Regions from separate parts of the Homo sapiens genome. Here regions 1 and 3 are each linked to region 2. The links are contacts of gene promoters, found by promoter capture Hi-C in blood cells and fetal thymus (Javierre and others, 2016). All regions are on one chromosome and are shown on one strand. The core of a region is centred on a gene start or on the middle of the fragment in contact, and the rest is flanking DNA. Distances in the headings are between cores, read along the strand shown. Region 1 has its middle 180 kb from the start of TTLL2. Region 2 holds the start of LINC01558 (long intergenic non-protein coding RNA 1558). Region 3 has its middle 120 kb from the start of TTLL2.

The links. The method cuts DNA at HindIII sites, captures the fragments that hold promoters and counts their contacts. A CHiCAGO score of 5 or more calls a contact.
Region 1: a fragment that was not itself captured here is called in contact with the fragment with the promoter of LINC01558 in region 2 in 1 of 17 cell types (endothelial precursors); the score reaches 7.6 in endothelial precursors.
Region 3: a fragment that was not itself captured here is called in contact with the fragment with the promoter of LINC01558 in region 2 in 1 of 17 cell types (endothelial precursors); the score reaches 5.8 in endothelial precursors.

The regions. Positions count from the first base shown.
Region 1 is chr6:167,500,232-167,503,712 of GRCh38, forward strand. No RefSeq gene overlaps it. Among named protein-coding and RNA genes, the nearest start is that of TTLL2, 180 kb to the left of the region's middle. The HindIII fragment of the contact is 5,644 bases long and covers 1-3,481 here.
Region 2 is chr6:167,795,080-167,798,536 of GRCh38, forward strand. LINC01558 (long intergenic non-protein coding RNA 1558) reads right to left here and starts at 1,780. Exons shown (of 4, transcript NR_026773.1): 1 at 1,530-1,780. It overlaps LOC441179 (a long non-coding RNA gene), which reads left to right and starts at 450. Exons shown (of 1, transcript NR_149041.1): 1 at 450-3,169. The HindIII fragment of the contact is 6,189 bases long and covers 231-3,457 here.
Region 3 is chr6:167,444,026-167,447,382 of GRCh38, forward strand. No RefSeq gene overlaps it. Among named protein-coding and RNA genes, the nearest start is that of TTLL2, 120 kb to the left of the region's middle. The HindIII fragment of the contact is 1,217 bases long and covers 1,462-2,678 here.

The DNA of each region.
Region 1 (3,481 bases), core at 737-3,236, 290 kb before region 2:
AAGCATAGAATTTGGAAATAAAAGACTCACACCAACACTTTTATTCAAGGCCGGGATAATAATCTGTTGCTTATTTTAAAGTGCTATATCTTGAATCTTGTGCCCAGTGGTGTTGGTGTTGGTGTTGGTGGCCATTATGTCAAAGGCAGACACAGGCATGGCAGACAGAAGCAAAAAGCCCAAGGTTATTTAATAGTCACAGAGGCCTGGTTTTATTTTTGAATTATCCCATGATGTTTTTCCAAAGACTTCCAGCCTCACCTTACAATGCAGGTAATTCTCCTTTCAGAGGGCCCCTCCCTCATCACCAGCAACTGAAGACCACTTGATTTACGAATTCTCTAAGGGTTTATTGAGCACCTAATGAGTGTCAGGTACAACGGTACAACGGTAAGCCTGCAAATACAAATATCGTGAAGCCCAGTTTCTGTTTCCAACAAGCCAAGACCCACAGAATTGAAAGACAGTAGTGACCCAGTTGGCACCTGCATCTATGGGCACTGAGCAATGAGAAATGTGCCCACATCAGCCGAAGCAACCCAGGAGGCCTTCCCAGAGGAGAGGAGCTCTGAGCTGAGGTCTGCAATGGAAGGAGGTGCTGCCGGCACACAGGCGCATGGAAGGCGTCCCAAGAAGAGGGAGGAGGCCGCCCAGCTCACCCCTAGAGCCTGGGCTTTCAAGTGGAAACAGAAGTTGGAGAAGAACCAGTTCTCAGAGCTGCAGGGTGGCACAATAGGAGAAGGGAGTGGGGTGGGGAAACTGAGATACAGGATGCCCCTCCTCAAAGCCCTGCCCCTCCCCAGTCTCCAGAGTCACCCACACTAGCCCTGGGCCCGCACAGCCCCCGCCCATGGCAAACCTCAGTCTCACAGCTGAGACTGAGGATGAGGCCGACACCACCTCCCACGGCCTCCACGGCCAGGCCCATGGTCACCACAGAGCCTGGGGGCCGAAGTACTCAGCTGCTGGACTCCGGCCACAGCCCTCCTGCCCTGGGTGCTGACTCCAGCCCCAGCCCTCTTGCCCCAGCTGGCACTGGTGCTCTCCTCCCAGACAGTGCGGTGCTATCTAAGGGAGATCCAAGACAGAACACAATCCTCTTTTTTAATTCAAAGAACACAAATTTGAGACCTCATATAAGCCAAAAATGTGTCTCCAGTGATTCCTGTCGGTGGGCAGTGGTGGGTGGAATAAAGCAACGAGAGGAGGGCTACATTCAGCTGAGCTGGCTGGGTCCCTTTAGTGGCTCATCCTGCCCTCCTTCTGGGCTCCTGTGTGCTCACACCTTGGGCACCACCAGTGCTTAGGCTTTGGAGAGAGCAGGCGTTGTCCCCCCAAGCTCGGGAGCAACATGAACGAGACCTCCCATGTGGGAACCAACCCATGCATTGAGTTAGATGTGCTGGCTGAGCAGAGCTCACTATGTTGAGGGAGAGAAGGCCACGTGCACCGCAGACATCTGACCCATGGAGGAGAGAATTCGGGAAGAGACAAGCCATGGGGGGTTTGATAAGACTGGAACCTCGGAAGTGACCTTCTGTTGGCCCCACCGGGAGGAAGGAGCTTTCCGCAGTGCCTGTGGCTTGGTCTGGAAGTTGCATCTCAGCAAAGCCCCCTGAGGTGTGGTTGTCAGCCAGCACATTTGACCCAGCGCATGGGTTGGTTCCAAATCCACATGACTCTGTAGCCCGCAGGTCCACAGGCTCCTCGTCATGAGCCAACTCCCTGCATTGGATGCAGCTGCAGGGAGCATTGTGTTGGGAAGAGATCTAGGACAAGGCACCGAGACACATTGGTGATGTTTGCTGTGAACAGGGAAGGCAGCGTGGGAAATTTCGTCAGGCACACGTCTGAAGTGACACTGGGATCTCACAATCAGAACCCAGACTACGCAATCAATTCGTCTAGCGTTGACTCAGAAACAGTTACTGCCACACGCCGGGGTTCCCAGCACCTTCGCAGGAGTGCAGCAGGAGGCAGCAGAGAACAGAATCCAGGTGCCCAGATTCTCATCTGCACATCTGCCAATGGGTGAGGGAGGGCCACAGACTGGAGGGAAGGCAGAAGAGAACGTCTCCATGATTTCAACCAGCCGGTCCCCATCTCTCTAGCAGTCACCAAGCAGTGAGGCCCCGCTCACGTCGACTGACACGTACGTGCTTCTTGGGCATTCTTCTGTGCTCCATGCAAGATAATTGCTGTTTTTTTTTCTTTAGTCTTTATATCCTTTCAACTATCTGGAAGTGTCCTACAAATAAGTGTCCCCCTGGGCAGAACTCCCAAATAGTCACCCCTTTGCCCCCACTCCCCTCCACCCTGGGCCTGCCCTGACCCAACTCCCATGCTCCTGCTCGAAGCCACTAACAAGCCCAAGAGGATATTTCAAGCAGCCAGGAAATGTGTCCACACTGGGAAGCAGCACCGGAGGCTTCATTCGAGTCCATGTGGATGCACGAGCGCTGCCTCCCTTTCAGCCTCCCACTGTTTGCTGGAGCATGGTGTTCACGGAGCTAATCAGAGTCCTCTGCCATCTGGAGCCCACAGGTGCCACAGGTGTTAAAAAGTGGATTTACAGACTCTGCCATTGTCCAGGGCAAGCGCTGGCCTCCAGCTCCTGCTTTGACAAAGATTTGGCAAATGTTTTAGAATGTTTAACTCCTGGGTGGTGCTTAAAGAACTGGTTGGAGAAACAAGTGATTCAAGATGCAGGTGTTCTGAGAGCAGTAGGAACAGTACAGGAGGGAGAGCCAGAGGATGGCTGGCGTCAACCTCGGAGCCCCACTTCCTCCAAGTCTCTTTCCTCACCTACAAAATGAGGATGGCCAGCCTTATTGGGAAAACTCAAATATCATAAGTAAGTACTTCTTCAATTCTTATCACCAAACTGCTCTACAAATAAATATGGGGGCTGTCGGCCCGGGCTGCACAGGAGCTGGTTTAATTCCAGCATCCCCTGGATTGATCAGTCGCATCAATGTGAGTGACAAGCCCACCAGCTTTGCTCCCTGTCCATGAAGATACGTCTCGTTCCCCCTTTTCTTTTGTATAACCCACAGGCTTCTTACAATGAGTTACCACCTCATGTTCTGAAAATTACAGCTTCTGAAGGACAACTTCTTAGAAGCAAGATTTGTCACCAAGAAAAGAATGTGTTGTTGATAAAAACTATACTCCCAAGGATTGGTGGCCACCTGCCTGAGCAGTTTCCAAGTTTACCCCAAGGAGGCCCCAGAAGGCTCTTGATAGTTGTGCTAGTTAAGGGTAAAGGGATGCTCTCATATTCTTTACTTTGAGATGAAGAATTTAAACTCAGACTAAGTAATTGTCAGGTGGGCGTATGCCCTGCTAAGAGAAGAGGTGGGCTGAAAACAATCAGCATCATCCATCTCCTTGTACCACACATGAAGCCTATAAGCACCAATCCCTCCCTGGGGTGGGGGCCGAGCAGGGGATGCAGCACAGCACAGCCTGGACCTCACCA
Region 2 (3,457 bases), core at 530-3,029:
TTATCATTTATTAATATCATTTCGACAAGGCAGAGACCCCAGCCCATGGAGAAGCTGTTGGTGGTGTGGCTGAGGTATGCAAATGTTTATGCACACGTGTGTTTTTGAGGGGGAAGAGAGGAAGGAAATGGGGGAGAGGAAAGAAGAAAAACAATGGGACAAAGCACCCAGGGCCGCCATTCACGGGTCCATGTGTTAAATAGGTGGTTATTTGAATAGTTGCTGCTGAAAGCTTCTGCTACCTTCCCCAGGTCAGGAATGAAACACACAGGCCCTGGTGGTGGCTCTGGTTTTTTCTGGAATTGTTCTACTGGAAACTGCTCTCTGTGAATTGACGGCTAATGAGACAAGCATCCGGAGCGAATGAGGGGCAGTGCCCTCCTCCCGCGTCCCCCTCGTGGGCTCCTCCCAGGCCGAGGAAGCTCGCTGCCCAGGCTTGGACAGACCCCCGAACAAAGGGAGCCGACAGCTCCACAACACTCAGCCCATGGGGACTGCAGCAGGTGAGTCTCCACCCAGCCTCCCTCCTTTGGACCAACACGAACTCCGGAGACGTCTGGGTGCAGCTGCCTCAGGCCCTGCTGTCTTCAACGGGGACTGAGGTTGCAGTTTAGCTGGCTTTCCTGTTCCTGCTTCCCCGGGTCCCCCTCAAAGAAGCCGCCTGCACCCCGTGCCACCTCACTCTGGCATAGCCCTACTTCTCCAAACCACCAGGCCTGCCCTCCCTTGTCCACGCAGATCTGACAATCTCCACAGTGCTGTGCAGACTTCAGCTCCAAGAAGTTGCAAGTGATGGAGATAAAATCCCTTCCTGAGAGAGTCATGAACCGTGGCCTGTTTGAGGTCAAAAGAAGAAATGAGAACAAAGCCAAGCCAAGGCTTCGGAGTGAGCCCTGAGACACCTCTCAGCTGGCCGGGTGGCCAGAGATCCACCCTGCAGGAGCCGCCCCGAGGCAGGTGGGCCACATCTCCCAACAAGCGGCACACAAGAAGGCCCCTCGCAAGAGGAGGCATCTGTGGTCTTCCCAGAGCAAAGGCAGCAGCCCCGGGAGCCCAGCCAGTCACTGGCCACCTGCACGCCTCTACACAGCAGACCTGGCCAGGCGGGCAGTGCCCCTGGCCCCTTGCGAATAGAACGTTGTGGAACAGGCGGAACCTGGGCAGCTGTCCTGCACTCTGGCCAGCCAGTCCGTGGATGCTCCTGCCAGGCAGGACTGAGCCACTGCCAGTCTGGCCGGTGCCAGCCTTTTCTCAGATCCAGCCACGCCCTCTCTGGATACGGTCTGGACACCGGCAGACCAAGCAGGCAGTTGCCTCCCTGGCTGGCTCTGACCTCCTGCAGCACAAGGAGAGGATGCACTGCACTGCCAGGCCTCTGGGCACCGAGGGCCGCTGCTCCGCCGTTTCTTTCTGCTACCGCTAATTCAAAACAGGGCAGGGAGCAGCTAGGCAGCAGCTGGGAGAGCTGCGGGCTCCTCCACCCGGTTGCTGGTGGGCTCCATCCGGCCGCACCGCCCGCACCTGCTCACCTCCAGCTGCCTCGGCCCCAGCGGCACGGACGGACTCAACGGCGACCACCGCGGCAGCTCCCCGGGGACTCCTCGCAGGTCAGCTGAGCTTTGCTTTCAGTCGGCGTGCACGGTTCCCAAACGTCGGTGGTGATTTTTGTAAGTGAGGTGGGGGTCACCACAGGAAGAGAGGGGAGGCAAACCTCCCTTCCCGCTGTGTCCCGCCTTTCCTCCTGGCGGTTGCGTTTCCACGTGTCCTGCCTGCTGCCCGCCCCAGCCCACACTGAGCAGGAAGGTGGGGCGTGGCGGGGAGGGGAGTGGAACTGAGGGAAGCAGAGAGGGTGGTGCCATTGCCCCCGGCCTAGCTTCTGTTTGATCATTAGTTTCAATTCAAGAAAACGTTCTTTTGAGGGAATTTTAAAAATGAATCACGTGCACCTCTTAAGAAAACCGAGTGTCACAATCGTTGTTACCACGCAGGTGAGAGGAGAGGAGGGAGGACGGGAAAGGGAAGGGGCATGAGAAAGGCGGATGGGACTGAGCTTCTACGGCTCCCTGGCCGCGGCGCACGCGCTGGCCCTCCCCGTCCACAGCAGCAGCGGCATCCTCCCCACCCTACAGCGAGGAGGTGGACGTTGCCCCGAGGGGAGGAGCGTGTCAGGGTGGCTTCCAGGTGCAGGTTCTCGCGCAGGCCTCAGCCTTCATAGGTGCATTCCGCTCTAGAACATTCCTGTTCATGCGTGGTCGTCGCTCACTGGTGGCCGCTTAGGTGCACTTCTCAATGGCAGTGCCCAGCACGGAGCAATGCCTCGGAGTGGCAGTTTCTTCAGTACGGTCCCCACGGCCTCTCCCAAGGCGGAGGATGCTGCCGCCAAGGAAACTGGCTCACCACGGACGCTGGTGAGCTATGGAGCTATCAGTGAGGTGTGGATTTCTCAGGCCTCTGGCGGGAGCCGGAGTAAAGGCCCTGAGTGTCTAGACCAGCCAGAGTGTCTGCGTGTAGGTCAGCAAATGTGGGCAAATGTCTAGGCGGTGGTGTCCTGCAGGGAGCCGAAGGCCCGTGGGGGACGTGACCAACTCAGCATTCCGCTGGAGGCTACAAACAGCAAACTGTTTATCATGAATGCAGGATGTGGGCAAACTCACACTGCCCTGCCACCAAAAGGTTTGCTAACAGACATCACTCCCTAGCTCCGGGCTCCTTAAAGTTATCTGCCTAAAAAATCTAGTGCCTATTGTCCAAAAAATGCAAGACTACTGTGAACCAAACGGCAGACTGACAATCACCCCCCTCCCCCAGCTTTCTCGCTATCTCTTTTTGCCTAATAAATACGGAGGGCTGTGTAAAGCTCAGGGCCCTTGTCCACTAAAGGCAAGGTGCCCCTAACCCCTTCTTCCAAATATACTCTGTTGTCTCTTGTCTTTTATTCCCGTGTTGCCCGCCTTTGTTCAGTCCAGTAGGTCCCCAACAATGTCCTGAGGGTATGAATCCTGAAAGACTACTCTCCATGAAGCAGGTATTTACCAGGTTAGTGCATGTTTCCTGGGTATTAAGGGAAAACAGTAAAATGTTCTGTACGGGGGTCCCGGTTCTGTGTCGCACGAGAAGAGTGTGTGTCTTTTTACTTTTTTAATATGGCTCAATAAAATTTTAAATCACATATGTGACTCTCATTGTATTTCTATTACACAATATGCTTTTTACCATGTCAAAATATCGGGTGGTTTCAATCAAATTGGTTAGTTAGCACCGTGTTCAAGAAAAACTCTTCTTTTAGGAAGGTACTAAAAGGTTCGTTGGTTGGGTTTTTTTAATGGAATTATATAACGTGTTATCACTAATTTGGATGCAGAATAGGAGTCTGGGGGTTGGCTGTAATGGCCTCTGAGGTCTTCTAAGCCTTATAGCTCTGTGATATTAAACTTGGTAAAAAGATGCCAAGAGATTC
Region 3 (3,357 bases), core at 820-3,319, 350 kb before region 2:
AGCGTCCAGGAAGAATCGGGCCACACAAATGGTTTGAAAGGTGATGAATGCAGAGGATTTTATTAAGTGGTGGAAGTGGCTCTCAGCAGAAGGGGAGCTGGAAGTGGGATGGAGCAGGGAGAAGGTTATCTTTCCCTGAAGCCCGGCCATCTGCAGCCAGGCTCCTCTCTGAAGCTGTGCCGTCTGAAGTTAAGCCACATCTATCCATAGTCTCTGATGCTCAGCTGCTTCTTCTCTCAACGTTCAGCCACTTGTCTCTTTGCCAGCTGAGGCCTGGGGTTTATATAGGCACAGGATAGGGGGTGGGGTGGGCCAAAAGGTAACATTTGGGCAAGAAAACAGGGATAACTGTTCTCATTTAGGGCTATGGTTTCCAGGCTTGAGGGTGGTGACTTGCCAGGGAACTGCCCTCTTCTGCCCAGTATTTCCCTGCCTCCTGTCCATATCAATTTGATATTTTTTGTGACACAGGTAGATAATTATCATAATCTGAAAAATAGCTTTCCATTGCAGGGGAAAGGGTTTGAGGTTCTGTCAACAACCCATGGACCTCTGGTCTATAGAATGAACAAAGAAATAATGTCATATAGATAAGCTACCTTGAGCCTTCTGGCAATTTCAGACTGTTTATAAATGTCTTGCTAAACTGTGAGGCCTACAAGGACGTAGGCTATGCCCGTCTTGCCTGCCATTACTTACCCAGCCTGGCACACAGCAAACACTCCGGTAATAGTGGTCACGCCAAAAAGTTATGACCACTTGGTGTCACTCAGCTTCCAGACTTTGTTACCTTACCAAGCCCGCTCCCACCTTCTGCTAACCTCCTGACCTTCGGAAGAAACCACCAATTCTGCAGTGGGCTCTGCACGCTCCCCAACTCTCAGCAGCAGTGTTGGTTAAACGAGTGAACATTCTGGTCTCTTCTATGAGCAGACCCAGGGGGTCAGCTGAGTCTCAAGTGTACACAAGGAGAAAGACATCCATGGGATAGCAGGGAGTTAGTGACACCAGCGCCCACAGGGCATCATGAACTCCACCTGGAGTCAACTCAGTGCTCTGCTGTCAAACTCCCCACAAGAAATGACAAGTTTGTGTCCTACAGCATCAATGCAAGGAGCCTGGCACCTACCAGGCAATTTCCAGCTGTCACTCATAGCTCAGCTCCTTGTAAATCTACTGCTAATGAGTTTATCTTGATTCTTCATGGACCTATTTAAGAATTCAGCTCTTCAATTTCATGGGGTATTTGCTGAGAGCAACAGACACTAGGAGAGGCCATGGTCTCTACTTCTTGCAGGAATTCTCTTAGGTTTTCTGCAAAGTGGGGAGCAGGGCTTGCCCTGTCTACTTCAGCCATACCCAGATAGCTTCCATCTCCCTTTGTGAGGCCAAAGGTTTTATCCTACCTGCATATGGAAAATCATTTTCCCTTTAAGTTTGCGGGTGCTTTTTGCCCAGATAAGCTTGCCTCAGGGTCCGGAGATGCTGCTCTTTATCACAGTTACTGGGTCCCATCTCCCCTCTCTGGGAAGCCCCTCATCTTCTCATGCAGATCTCACCAGAACTTGATTCCTGCAGGGGCTCCCTGCTGCACCAGCCCCACCGTCCCCAGCACCCAGCGTGTCTCCACCTGCGTGATTCGGTGAAGGCCCATCTCCTCCCAGGCTCAGACTCACAGTGGCAGAAACCATGGCTGGTTTTGAAGACAGATTTAACGCCAGCTCCGCATACCAAGCCTGAAACAGAAGAAGTGCTGGCAATATCTGTGGAGTGACAAAGTGCTGCACATTGCATTACCTCACAACTTCACAACTGCAGGATAGATTCCTGTCTGACTTTCTCCTTTGTGTCACGTCCCTATAAAAAATTAGTTGCACCTTCTCTTGGCTTTTTGACATAGGATGTATCTTCCACTGGCTTTTTTAAATAATAAATTCTGGGGCGACCTAGCATTCCTTTGGCTTTTAATAAAGTGTTTTAGAATGTCTCCAGGTTCCTTGTGGGCCTTTAGTTTTGAACATTTCACCATTATCCCCCAGCTAATCCCCGTGTCGTGCTGCCCCTCACCCGCGACCCTACACGTTTCCCCTCTGCTTCTGTTCAACGCTTTCTGAAGATGAGAGCTTAGAGCACTTAATTATTGATGATCCTATTTCTCCTCATGCAAATTTCATCAATTCACAGAGATACCAATTGTAGCTCCTGGGCAAATCTGATATTTTCTTAATGTTCAGCAATGTAGCAGAGCGCCACAGCTGTTCTGTCACTGATGCTGGGAAAAGGAGGGGGCAGGGCCAGCGCTCTGCTTCACCTGGAGAGAAAGAGAAAAATCCCCATTATTTCAGCACTGACTCACATTTACCAGAGGCCCCCACAGATGGGCTGAGCTGGCCTAGGATGTCCCACTGCCCCTAGGACACCCTGAAGCCCTGACGGGGGCAGGGAGCAGGGGCTCCTGAACTTTATTTCATTACTGTGAGTGCTGCACGGCCTGATGAGGGACACCTTGCCCGGCTGGAGGGGGACTGTGGAATAAGGAAAGCAGTAAGAGCTCTCAGGGTGGGCGGCCGAGGGCTAGGTCCGCATGAGCCACCAGCTCTGAGCAAGGCTTAGAACTTCGCCACCATCACACCTCGTAAACTGTCCTGCTTTGGAAAAGTGGACTTGTGCAGGACTGAAGCTTGCTCAGCCAAGGGAAGGACAGAGGAACTACCTGACCCATTCTTAATTTGTCTGTTTCAGAAACACTAGGTTGTTCCAGGGTGGTCTACACTCCTAACATTTCAGAAACTGAACCACACCCACAAGAAACGAATGGGCCTCTCCAAGCATATATTTAGGGAAAGGGCATATAAACTAGATTACAGCGTGGAGGTACTCATTATTGATAAGAAGTGACTTAAAGTTTTTATAACAGAAAAGTGGAAGATGAAGCTCAGCAAATATATGTCTGTGTGTGTATGCACACACGCATGTAAGTATATATATGCACACACACATATATACACACAAACACACATATGCACACACACATATGCTAATATATATTCACGGAAGAAAAGAGCATTAATAGAACATAAGGGCCCCAAGAACTGCTAACTTAGCGGCACAGATGGTATATCCAAACTGGCGTGTTCTCACTTTGTTATATTAGAAACCCAGCCATGGCTGCGCGATGGATAATATCACACATTCTGCTGAGCTCCACAACCAACATTTCTATGGGCTTGTCAGGAAAATGCCCTTCCATATGCAGGAGGAGCCATTGCCGCTGGCGTCTGGGGTTACCTGGCAGGCATGCCTACTGTAAGCTGAGTCGTCAACCTTCAGATGGATAGTAAGGAAATTTAACCCACA